Linked DNA regions of Homo sapiens: region 2 is linked to region 1. Evidence: promoter capture Hi-C in 16 types of primary human blood cells and fetal thymus (Javierre and others, 2016). All regions are on one chromosome and are shown on one strand. Each heading gives the region's core, a stretch centred on a gene start or on the middle of the fragment in contact. The rest is flanking DNA. Distances are from core to core; before and after follow the strand shown.

Region 1 (4,809 bases), core at 341-2,840:
GGAGACTATTAACACAGTATACACAGAAAAAGCCCATACTTTGTTATGGCTGTAGTTAGAGATGGGGGTTTCCTACGTTGCTCAGGCTCACCTCAAACTCCTAGACTCAGGCAACCCTCCTGTCTCAGCCTCCTGTGTAGCTACTAGGATTACAAGTGTGAGCCACCTTGCCTGGCTTAAAAGTCCATTCTTGTGCTTGTGTGAGTGTGTATAAAGAACTGGATGGATGACACTGCACATGTTAACAGTGATTATTCGTGAGTAGTGGTATTATGAGTCATTTTAATTTTCTTTTTTTGCTTTTTAAAAGTAAATATTCTACAATGAAAAAACTACTAAATTTCTTAATAGTTCTTCATGGCCTAGCCTCAATTTGCCTTCTTCCTAGTTTCACTCCCAAATATATTCTGTGCTGCAACCTCTTTCCCAGGCATTTCATAACTCCATTTCGTGTGAAGAGGTCTCCACAACAAGAAGTGTCATTCTTTTCTGTCATTCAAAATAGTTCTTCCTCTCAGAACTGAACAAGTGAATGGGCTCAAATGTTATCTGAAATCTGTCACAATTCTCTCCTCTCTCCTCTTCATCCCGACAAGCTTCCATCCTAAGTGTTCCCACATTTCAATGAAGTGGGGAAACATCAGACCTAGAGTGAAAACACACACTGCAGACTGACTTATGCACTTTACTGGCCATGAGGGAGCAGTATGTGGCATATAGGAGGTACTTAATAAAGCGAGTTGAATAAACAAATGTGCTTGGGCAGATTCCTTAATCTCAAGTACTGACTTTTTGCCCTGGACATCAAAGATGGTAACTCACAGGTTCACTGTGAGGCTTGCAGAGTTTTGGTTTAAACTAAGAAAAGCTATGCAAATGACAGCAACCATTTGAAGACGGGTACACTTTGGATACCGAAAAATGCTCTAGTACACTATACTCGTTTGAGCTTACAGCAATCTTCTAAGCAGTTATCATCTTTATTTTACAAATGAGGAATCCGAGGCTCAGAGAGGCTAAATAACTTGACAGAAATCACAGAGCTGGTAGAACTGGGATCAAGATTCGAAGTCGGATCTCTCTGCTATAATGTGCTCTCATTCGCCAGGCTAACGACACGTGATATTCACAGGGCACTGTCCAATCTGCCTCTATTATAGGTATTCGCCTGACCACCTTCACCTCTCCACTTAACTGTCAACTCCACGTGGGCGGGGCGTTTTGCACCTCCTGAGCTCGCAATGAAGGTCTGTGAGCAACGGCCTCGCCTCTACAACACCCGACGGACCCTCTGTGCCTCCTCCCCAGCCCCCCGGGCCCACCTTGTGGTGCACAGCTGCGTCTCCCCCATGAGGTAGCGGGGCAGCTGCTCCCGCAGCTGGATGCGGCCCCGCAGCGCCGCCTGACAGAAGGTGCCGTCCAGCAGGATCTGGTACGGCTCGCGGACTCCGAAGTTGTTGCGGAAGAAGCCAAGATGCTTCTTGGCATGTTTCTGCCTTGTGATCTTCATGCCTGGCTTACCGGGACCGAGGCCACCGGACCAGGAAGCATCAGTAAACGCCTCACGCACGCCCCAGTACCCTCAATGCCAGTTTCACCCGGAAATGAAGCGCCTTTGGCCACGGAAGCAAACGCCTCTGTCTTCCGGGCCTGCCCATTGGTTTACGTCATGTCCAGACCAGCGCGCGCTTCCACCGCAGTGCCCGCGCTTAAAGGGGCGGTCCCTTAGGGCGGAACTTGTGCGTACGCTGGAAAACCGCTGGGGTGCGCGATTCCGCACGGGGGCGCACATGCGCAGTCTGGGGCCACGGTAAAAGAAAATTACGAGAATACATTTAGCGTGTTACCTACGTTTTAGAGGCGCGTAGCAAGAGCTTCTCTGAAAGACTGGCAGTATAGTAGTAGTCAGTGATAATATTGAGCCTTAATATGTTCCAGACACTGTCCTAAGTGATTTACCTTACATTATTCCCCTGAATGTTTATAATTCCCAAGTGAAAGAAGGAAATGATATATTGGATAGCTATGAGTGGGGAGGTTTGTACTGGCTGCTTTCCCATAAAGAAATTAAGCACGTTCACGAAGGGCACGTAGTTTGTTAGTGTCTGGAACCCAGTTTTCGTGCCTGAAGTTCAAATGTTCTTGCTACACCACCATAGAAACTAACGTCACTCAGGAACCATTTGTCAGGGCAAAGGGTGCCACCATTTTGCATTTCCTCCTGCCTTAGGACCATCCTAAATCACTCGCATGGAGTGTTTTGGAAGAACTCTCAAGAGCTTCGTTTGCCTAGAGTCAGAATTCCTAACCTTGAGTCCTGGTTTTGCCACAAACCCAAGCCGTTTGATCTTGGGCAACTCCCGAAGAAAGCTGGGTTCAACTTCCTCACTGTCAAACTGGTTGTAGGTCTAGATAAGTTTCAAGTACTCTTTTTATGTGCATGGTCTCTGACATAGGAAGACTACATACTGGGCCAGTAACAGGAAGGCACAAAGCTGACTGGAGGTTTAAAAATTACTTGGTCAATTTGATTAATGAGGAGAATGAATCAGAAAATTTCAAGTTCTCCCGTGGCTAACTGTCGAGTATCCACTTCAAGGTAAAATAATCAAAGAATGGGGAGTATGGAATTTTGCATTTTTGTCCTTGCCTGGAATCTGTCCCAGATCTAGTTTTGGCTAAAGATTGAAAGAACCAGCACAGAAAATGATTTACAACGTGATTGAATGCATTGTTTGCATTTGGGGTTTTATTTCAATATGTAGGTTTATGAAATTGGAATAAGATCTATAATGTTAGCCCTGATCTGAGTCCCAGCACATCACTTAGATGGTTGCTTTCATTTAAACTTAAAATGAATTTAGGAATTGGAAGCCATGAAAACTTTTGCAGGGTTGGATTCAAGGTCTTTGAGTGTAATTGCTCAGTACTTTTCAATTTGAATCCTCTTTTTATCCCTGTATGCCAACTCTCTACTCCAACTATGCGCCCACCACAGACAGAGAAACGAGATACCACCTGAGTCTTGCAAAACAGTTAAAACATTTTTTCTTAAATAGCCTCAGATTTATCTACCAGCTCCTTGGCCACTTTTCAGTACTAAGAAAAATGTGGTGCAGCACTAGGGATTTTAGTCTTATCTTAGTTTTTGTTGTCGTTTTTTAATTTACCAAGCTACAGCACATTTTTTCCCCAAGCTCTATGTATATGACAGTGCCAGTTTGCACCCTATCTTTATTATGAAAACATGAAGATGGTCTATAATGGTGATTATCAAGTTTAAAACAAAGTTTTCGGCCGGGCATGGTGGCTCATGCCTGTAATACCAGAACTTCGGGAGCCCGAGGCGGGAGGATCACTTGAGCCCAGGAGTTGGAAACCAGCCTGGGCAAAATAGGGAGCCCCTGTCTCTGCTAAATTAAAAGAAGACAAAAAGAGAAAAAAATAGAGTTTTCTATTACAGCAGTGTTTCTCAAAACAAGGTCCTGGGATATGCAGAAAAAGCTCTTAGTGTGCTTGTTTAAAATGCCCATTTCTGATTCAGAATAAGTATTGAGGGAGAGGGGTACTATTCAAAGAGGAAGTGACATTTATTACAATCTCCCCAAATCATTATTATGCTCATTAGTGTTCCTGAAGGACCTTTTTTGTAATAAAGCATCGTTTATCCAATAAGATATTTTTATTAATTGGTCCACTTAATACACTTTTGTTTAGATGCCAAATGATCTGTAATGGAAAATCAATATTTAGCCACAACCAAGGCAGAAGCCAAATACTGCCATTATTGAGTGAACCATTTGGATATAAATTTAAATCTGAAATTTTATTTTGAAAGTTATGTCATTATTAAAATATTTAATATTCATTGAAATTTTTTTGACCTTATACTGAAGGAACAATAATTTATAACAGCATTGCTAGTTTTTAGCTTTTTTCTCAGGTCAGTCCACTGGACATTTTCCATGCCAAATAGAAATCCACATTCAGCTGGAGTAAGTAGGCGATTAATTTATTTTTCTTTATTTTTTATGTTCTTCATTTTATTATGTCTGGATCAAATATAGTTTTATAATATTATGCTGTTGTACATGATTTTGAAGTTTTTTTCTTCATGAAATTTTGATGAAGCCAAGTTGACATGAGAATAATTTATTTTTGAAACGTATGACTAATTCCCAAATAGGACTTTCTCATGAAAGATTCATGGCCTAAATGGAATTAAAGAGGTAAACATTAAATATAATTCATAAAGGTTACTTTGTTGAATTTCATCAATGTTAGTATAATTTTGTTTAATTTCGTAAATGTTAGACAATTTAGCTAACATATCTATTGTGGTATTATTCTTCCTTATATTCATATCTAAATATTTATAAACATTTGTTAACATTCATTAGCTCAAAAACAATTTCTACCTAACATTATCTAACATACTGCCTAAATAAATAATTTAGCTAAATAAATATTTTACGACAACTTAGGTAAAGCACTTTGTATTGAGGTCCTATGAGGTTCTTCGCTAAGATCCCCTAGGATAGGCTCCATCATGGAATGCCTTACTGTGAAATTTCAAATATGTCAGAAGGTGTTACAAAGGTCAGATATGGAGGCTGTCACTTTTTAAAATAATCTTTAAAATAAAATAAAATAACAAAAACTTTATGTATTTCAAATTACAAAAATAACATATGCCTCTTAAAACAAGTGGAAGAACATGAAGATAGTAATTTCTTCTCCCCTTGCCCAGATAACACTTTGATGATGTATTATGTATCTCTTGGCAATGTTTCCATATTTACATATTGA
Region 2 (4,840 bases), core at 942-3,441, 130 kb before region 1:
CTGGTAGTATGTTTTAATTTCTTCATTTTTATTTTTGGTGAATCTATTATAGGTTTTTGCATGGTTACCATGAGGCTTACAAAAAAAAACCATAGATATCACAAGTTATTTTAAACAGATGACATTTACCTTAGATCACACAATAAAGACCAGAAATAAAGGCAAAAAACACACATACGAAAAAATCTACACTTTAACTCTATCACCCTCATATTTTGAGTTTTAGTTGTCTCAATTTACATTTTTTACATTCCATATCTTTTAATAAGTTGCTGTAGCTATTATTGTTTTTGACAGATTTGTCTTTTGGGCTTTATTATCAGAGTTGTGAGTAGATTGCACACCACCATTATAGGAATAGAGTATTCTTGGTTTGTCTACGTACTTAATTCTACCAGTGGGTTTTACACCTTGAAAAGTTTTCTTTTTGTGCATTATTTTTTTTTCTATTTCAGACTGAAGATCTCCCTTCAGCATTTCTTGTAAGACAGATCTGCTGGTGGTGAATTCTCTCAACTTTTGCTTGTCTGGGAAAGACTTTATCTCTCTTTCATAGTTGAAGAATAATTTGGCTGGGCACAATATTCTTGGATGGCAGATTTTCTTTTCTTTGAACACTTTGAAAATGTCATTCCATTCCCTCCTGGATACATCTATGCCTTTGTATTGAAGGATTAATTATTTTTTCAAATTTCCTCTGACAGGCTTGTTTTGTTTTTTTAGTGGATATATTTGCCTAGAAAATCTTTACCACTATGTTGCAGCCTTCTTTTTGGCCCTAGGTGTGTCTTAAGTCCAGGTTCACCTTGGCTTTGGTAAATGATCAGAGTGATGTCCGTTTTGAATGGGTGAGGTCCTAAAGGGACCTGGCACTGTTAGAAGGCTAGCTAGGAGTTTACACCCAAGGAAACTATGAAACGTACCTTCTATGGTGTGATGCTCCTGAACAACCATTCTGATTTGATGTCTTCTTTTGCCAAGTTGCAGAGCAGAGTTTCCAGGGCTGGGGGTGGTAGTTCCACTTCCCTCCTTTGTCTTCACCTGTCCTCTGTGAAGTTTCTCCCTTCAGGCAGCCACAGTGCTTCCCTTGGGTTAAGACAATAACAGGTCTCCTCCCAAGATATCCAAGATGGTAGAAAAGCTGGTTGGCCATCTCAATCTCACTCCTTCCCTTGTAGAAACCATGAGTTGGAGAAGATTTTCCAGGTGCTAGTTGCCAGGCAGAATGGGGGGATGGGGTGTCATGGATGTGAAAGTCTGATTCTCCCACCATCTGCTCAAAGTACTCTCATTTCTCTGTGTCCCCAGGATCTGTCTCATCCTCATATTTGATTCTGGGTTGTTGCTGTATATTTGTTTTTGGTTTTCTGGCAAGGAGGTGGGGTAGTAAGACCAGCTTGCTTCTATGCCACCATTTAAACTGAAAGTCTAAGATCACTTTGTCTCAGACAAATACTAATCTTCTTAAAATGGTGTATAATGTGTGAGAATGGAGTATTTTGTCAAAGGAAAACAAATGTAAATCTCTATCTCCTACAGAAATGAGTTTATTTTCTCACTTTTAGCCTTCCATTGAAAAAAAGCAGTGTGTCAAAGCCAGCCTACTTATTATTCCGCACCCTTAAAACATATTTCAGTGATGAATCTGACAAGCTATACTCAGATTTTTTTCAGCTATTATAACTGTGCTATTATAAAAATGAAGCCTGTAAGAATCTTTCAAAAGGTAGAAGTCAATCATGTAACTCATTAATTCTACATGAAAAAGTCACATCAAAGACAGACTTTTTTTTATGATTAAAAAAAGTCTTATAAAAAAAGGAAAAAAGGCCAGGCATGGTGACTCATGCCTGTAATCCCAGCACTTCAGGAGGCTAAAGCAGGTGGATTGCTTGAGCTCAAGAGTTCAAGACCACCCTGGGTAATATGACAAAACCCTGTCTCTATAAAAAAAAATACAAAAAATACTATCTGGGTGTGGTAACATGTGCCTGTAGTCCCAGCTATTTGGGAGGCTGAGGTGGGAGGGAGGTGGAGGTTGTAGTGAGCCATGATTATGCCACTGCACTCCAACCTGAGCAACAGAGTGAGACCCTGTCTCCAAAAGAGGAAAAAGAAAAACCAAACCAGATAATGACATTGTTAATAGCACGGATTATTATTTAAAATAACAGTAGCTTCAAATATAGTGATATTGGTAGCTCTGTCCTTTCATTTAAAGGAGCATATATTCATTTAAATTATATCAAAATCTTTGAATATTTTAGTTTAAAATACTTATACACTGTCTATATAGAAAACCAAGCAATAGTTACTTAGGAAATTTCTACTTTGAAATCAATGTGAATTTCTGACAGCAGGCTCATTCCCTCACTCACTCCACTCCTTCCATGCTGGCCTCTTTGCTTTTGCTTGCCTTCCAGGGAATCTCCTGTCTCAGAGCCTTTGCATTTTCTCCTCCCTCTCCTGGACACTTCTCCCCTAAAGACTCACATGGTTCGTCCTCTCACCTTCTTCAGATATTCACATAAATATCACCTTCTGAAGGAGGTCTTCTTTGACTCTGCTATGGTTTGGATACTTGACCTCTCTAAACCTCATGTTGAAATATAATCCCCAATGTTCAGGGTGGGGCCTAGTGGGAGGGGTTTGAGTCATGGAGGTGGATCCATCATGAATGGCTTGGTGCCATCCTTGAGGTAATGAGTGAGTTCTAGGTAATGAGTGAGTTCTCGCTCTATTAGTTCCTACAACAGCTGGTTGTTAAAAAGAGCCTGACACCTCCTTCTTTCTCTCTCACTTTTTTTCTCACCATGTGATCTCTGTACATGCCAGCTCCACTTCTCCTTCTGCCACAAGTGGAAGTAGTCTGAAACTCTCACCAAAAGTAAATGCTGACATCATGCTTCTTGTACAACCTGCAGAACCATGAGCCAAATAAACCTCTTTTTTAAATATATAAATTATCAAGCCTCGGGTATTCCTTTATAGCAACACGAACAGACTAAGGCCGATGCTGTCAATTTTCTGTAATCCCATTTCCTACACTACTTTTCGTCATTGCATTTATCCCTTTCTAATGTATTACGTTTATCTCTTTCTAATGTATTACATATTTTACTTCTTTACTACAATTCAGTAAATATGTATTGCATTAATCAGTAAATAAAAGGAAGGAAAGTAGGGATGCCAGTGACATACATTTTGCTTGAATGGATTTGTATGCACCATGTGACTCTGAGTCTATAATGCTGGTGGCAGCTTCTTACTCCAGTTCATAGCTAAGGTGGTCTGACGCTGGAATCAAGAGTTTGGGATAGTGTCTTCCTGACTCCCCAGCTTTCTGAAGGTTGCAGAGGTAGCCCTTTCTTTGGTGAGCTGGTTCTTGGTTGACATTCTGGAAGTCAATCCCAGAGACATAGCCTAAAACCAGCTCTTCCCCATGATTAACCTCTTTCTTTTCTGATTATCCTAATGTTTCCTGTCACCTACAACTGAGCCCCAACTAATAAAGTATTGTATCCCCATTTCACAACAAGAAAACAAAGTATCAGGAAAATAAAATGACAACAATAAGTCAAGCCCAAGTTTATATGATCCCACAAACAAAATGAACTGTAAGATATTACAAAAGATATGGATGAATAGCCAGACAGAGTACATTCATAGGGCAATGTATGTGGAAAGGAAAGTGAAATTTCCATGCCCTCTGTGGGCATATCACCCTCCAGACACCTCCACGTGTTCAGCAATCCAGAAGCCTTTCTGAACACTATTCTTTTGGGTTTTTATGGAGGCTTCATTACATAGGCATGATTGATTACATTATTAGCCATTGGTGATCAACTTAACCTTCAGCCTTTCTCTGCTGCTTGCAGGGATTGGGGAGTAGGGTTGGGGAGGCTGAAACTCCCAACTCTCTAATCATGCCTTGGTCTTTCCAGTGACCCCCATCCTGAAACTACCTAGGTGCTCTTAGCCACTGTTATCTCAGTAACATACAAAGAAAAAAAACTCTTATCACTCAGGAGATTCCAAGGATTTTAGGAGCTGTACTCCAGGAAATGGAATGAAGATCAAATATGTATTTCACAACATCACAGAACAATCCTAGCTCCCTCTGCCAATGGCTCAGAATATTTAAAACCTACTCAGTCCAAGAAATTCCTCTTCTAATCCTAAGAAACATAGATTTATGGAACTAATGATAAATGTGTTCTTTCCAGTCCAGCTCTGTTTCTGGAATTCTTTGCATTTCCTACCAATGCCTGTTAAGAGTGTTCCCAAAAACAATAAAATCTTGCCGCTCAATAGTTGAGTGTTTGGCATAATGTATAATGTATGATATTTTAGGAATTTTCAAGAAACATTGCAGTGGAAAACTCAAATTCAGTCACAAAAGTGACTCTTTGCTTATAAAACAGTCATTGTGGGTTTACAATCTGTATTAGAATCAAATCTTCTTTCATCTGCAACTGGCTTGTTTTCCTTTTCTGGTTAGTCAGTTGATGACGTGTGATTTGGGACAATCAGGGGCTGAGAATCTGGCGGTTACTTCTAGTCTTTTGCACAATCTAAGGCAACTAAACCTCTTTCCATGTTTAGTTATTTTTTGTGTATTTGTGGAGTTTGCTTTTGAAATGGAAATTTTTTTGAGAAAACCATCTCAGAAAAAACATGGACAGGGAAAATTCTATCCATTATTTACATAACATCAAACAGACAAGCCAAGGACAGGCTGCTTCTCTGAAGAACTAAATCTGGAAACAGGAGATTTCACAATGTAGAAAGCAAATGAAGTTGGAGAGAGCAGAGGATGAATAGGCCCGATATGTTTTCT

What was found. The method cuts DNA at HindIII sites, captures the fragments that hold promoters and counts their contacts. A CHiCAGO score of 5 or more calls a contact.
Region 2: a fragment that was not itself captured here is called in contact with the fragment with the promoter of UTP23 in region 1 in 1 of 17 cell types (total CD8 T cells); the score reaches 5.1 in total CD8 T cells.

What each region holds. Positions count from the first base shown.
Region 1 is chr8:116,763,305-116,768,113 of GRCh38, reverse strand. UTP23 (UTP23 small subunit processome component) reads right to left here and starts at 1,590. Exons shown (of 3, transcript NM_032334.3): 1 at 1,323-1,590. The coding sequence starts at 1,510. It also overlaps a transcript of EIF3H not described here. RefSeq lists enhancers at 1,204-1,513, 1,524-1,673. The HindIII fragment of the contact is 9,967 bases long and covers 599-4,809 here.
Region 2 is chr8:116,890,004-116,894,843 of GRCh38, reverse strand. No RefSeq gene overlaps it. Among named protein-coding and RNA genes, the nearest start is that of MIR3610, 18 kb to the right of the region's middle. The HindIII fragment of the contact is 9,463 bases long and covers 1-4,840 here.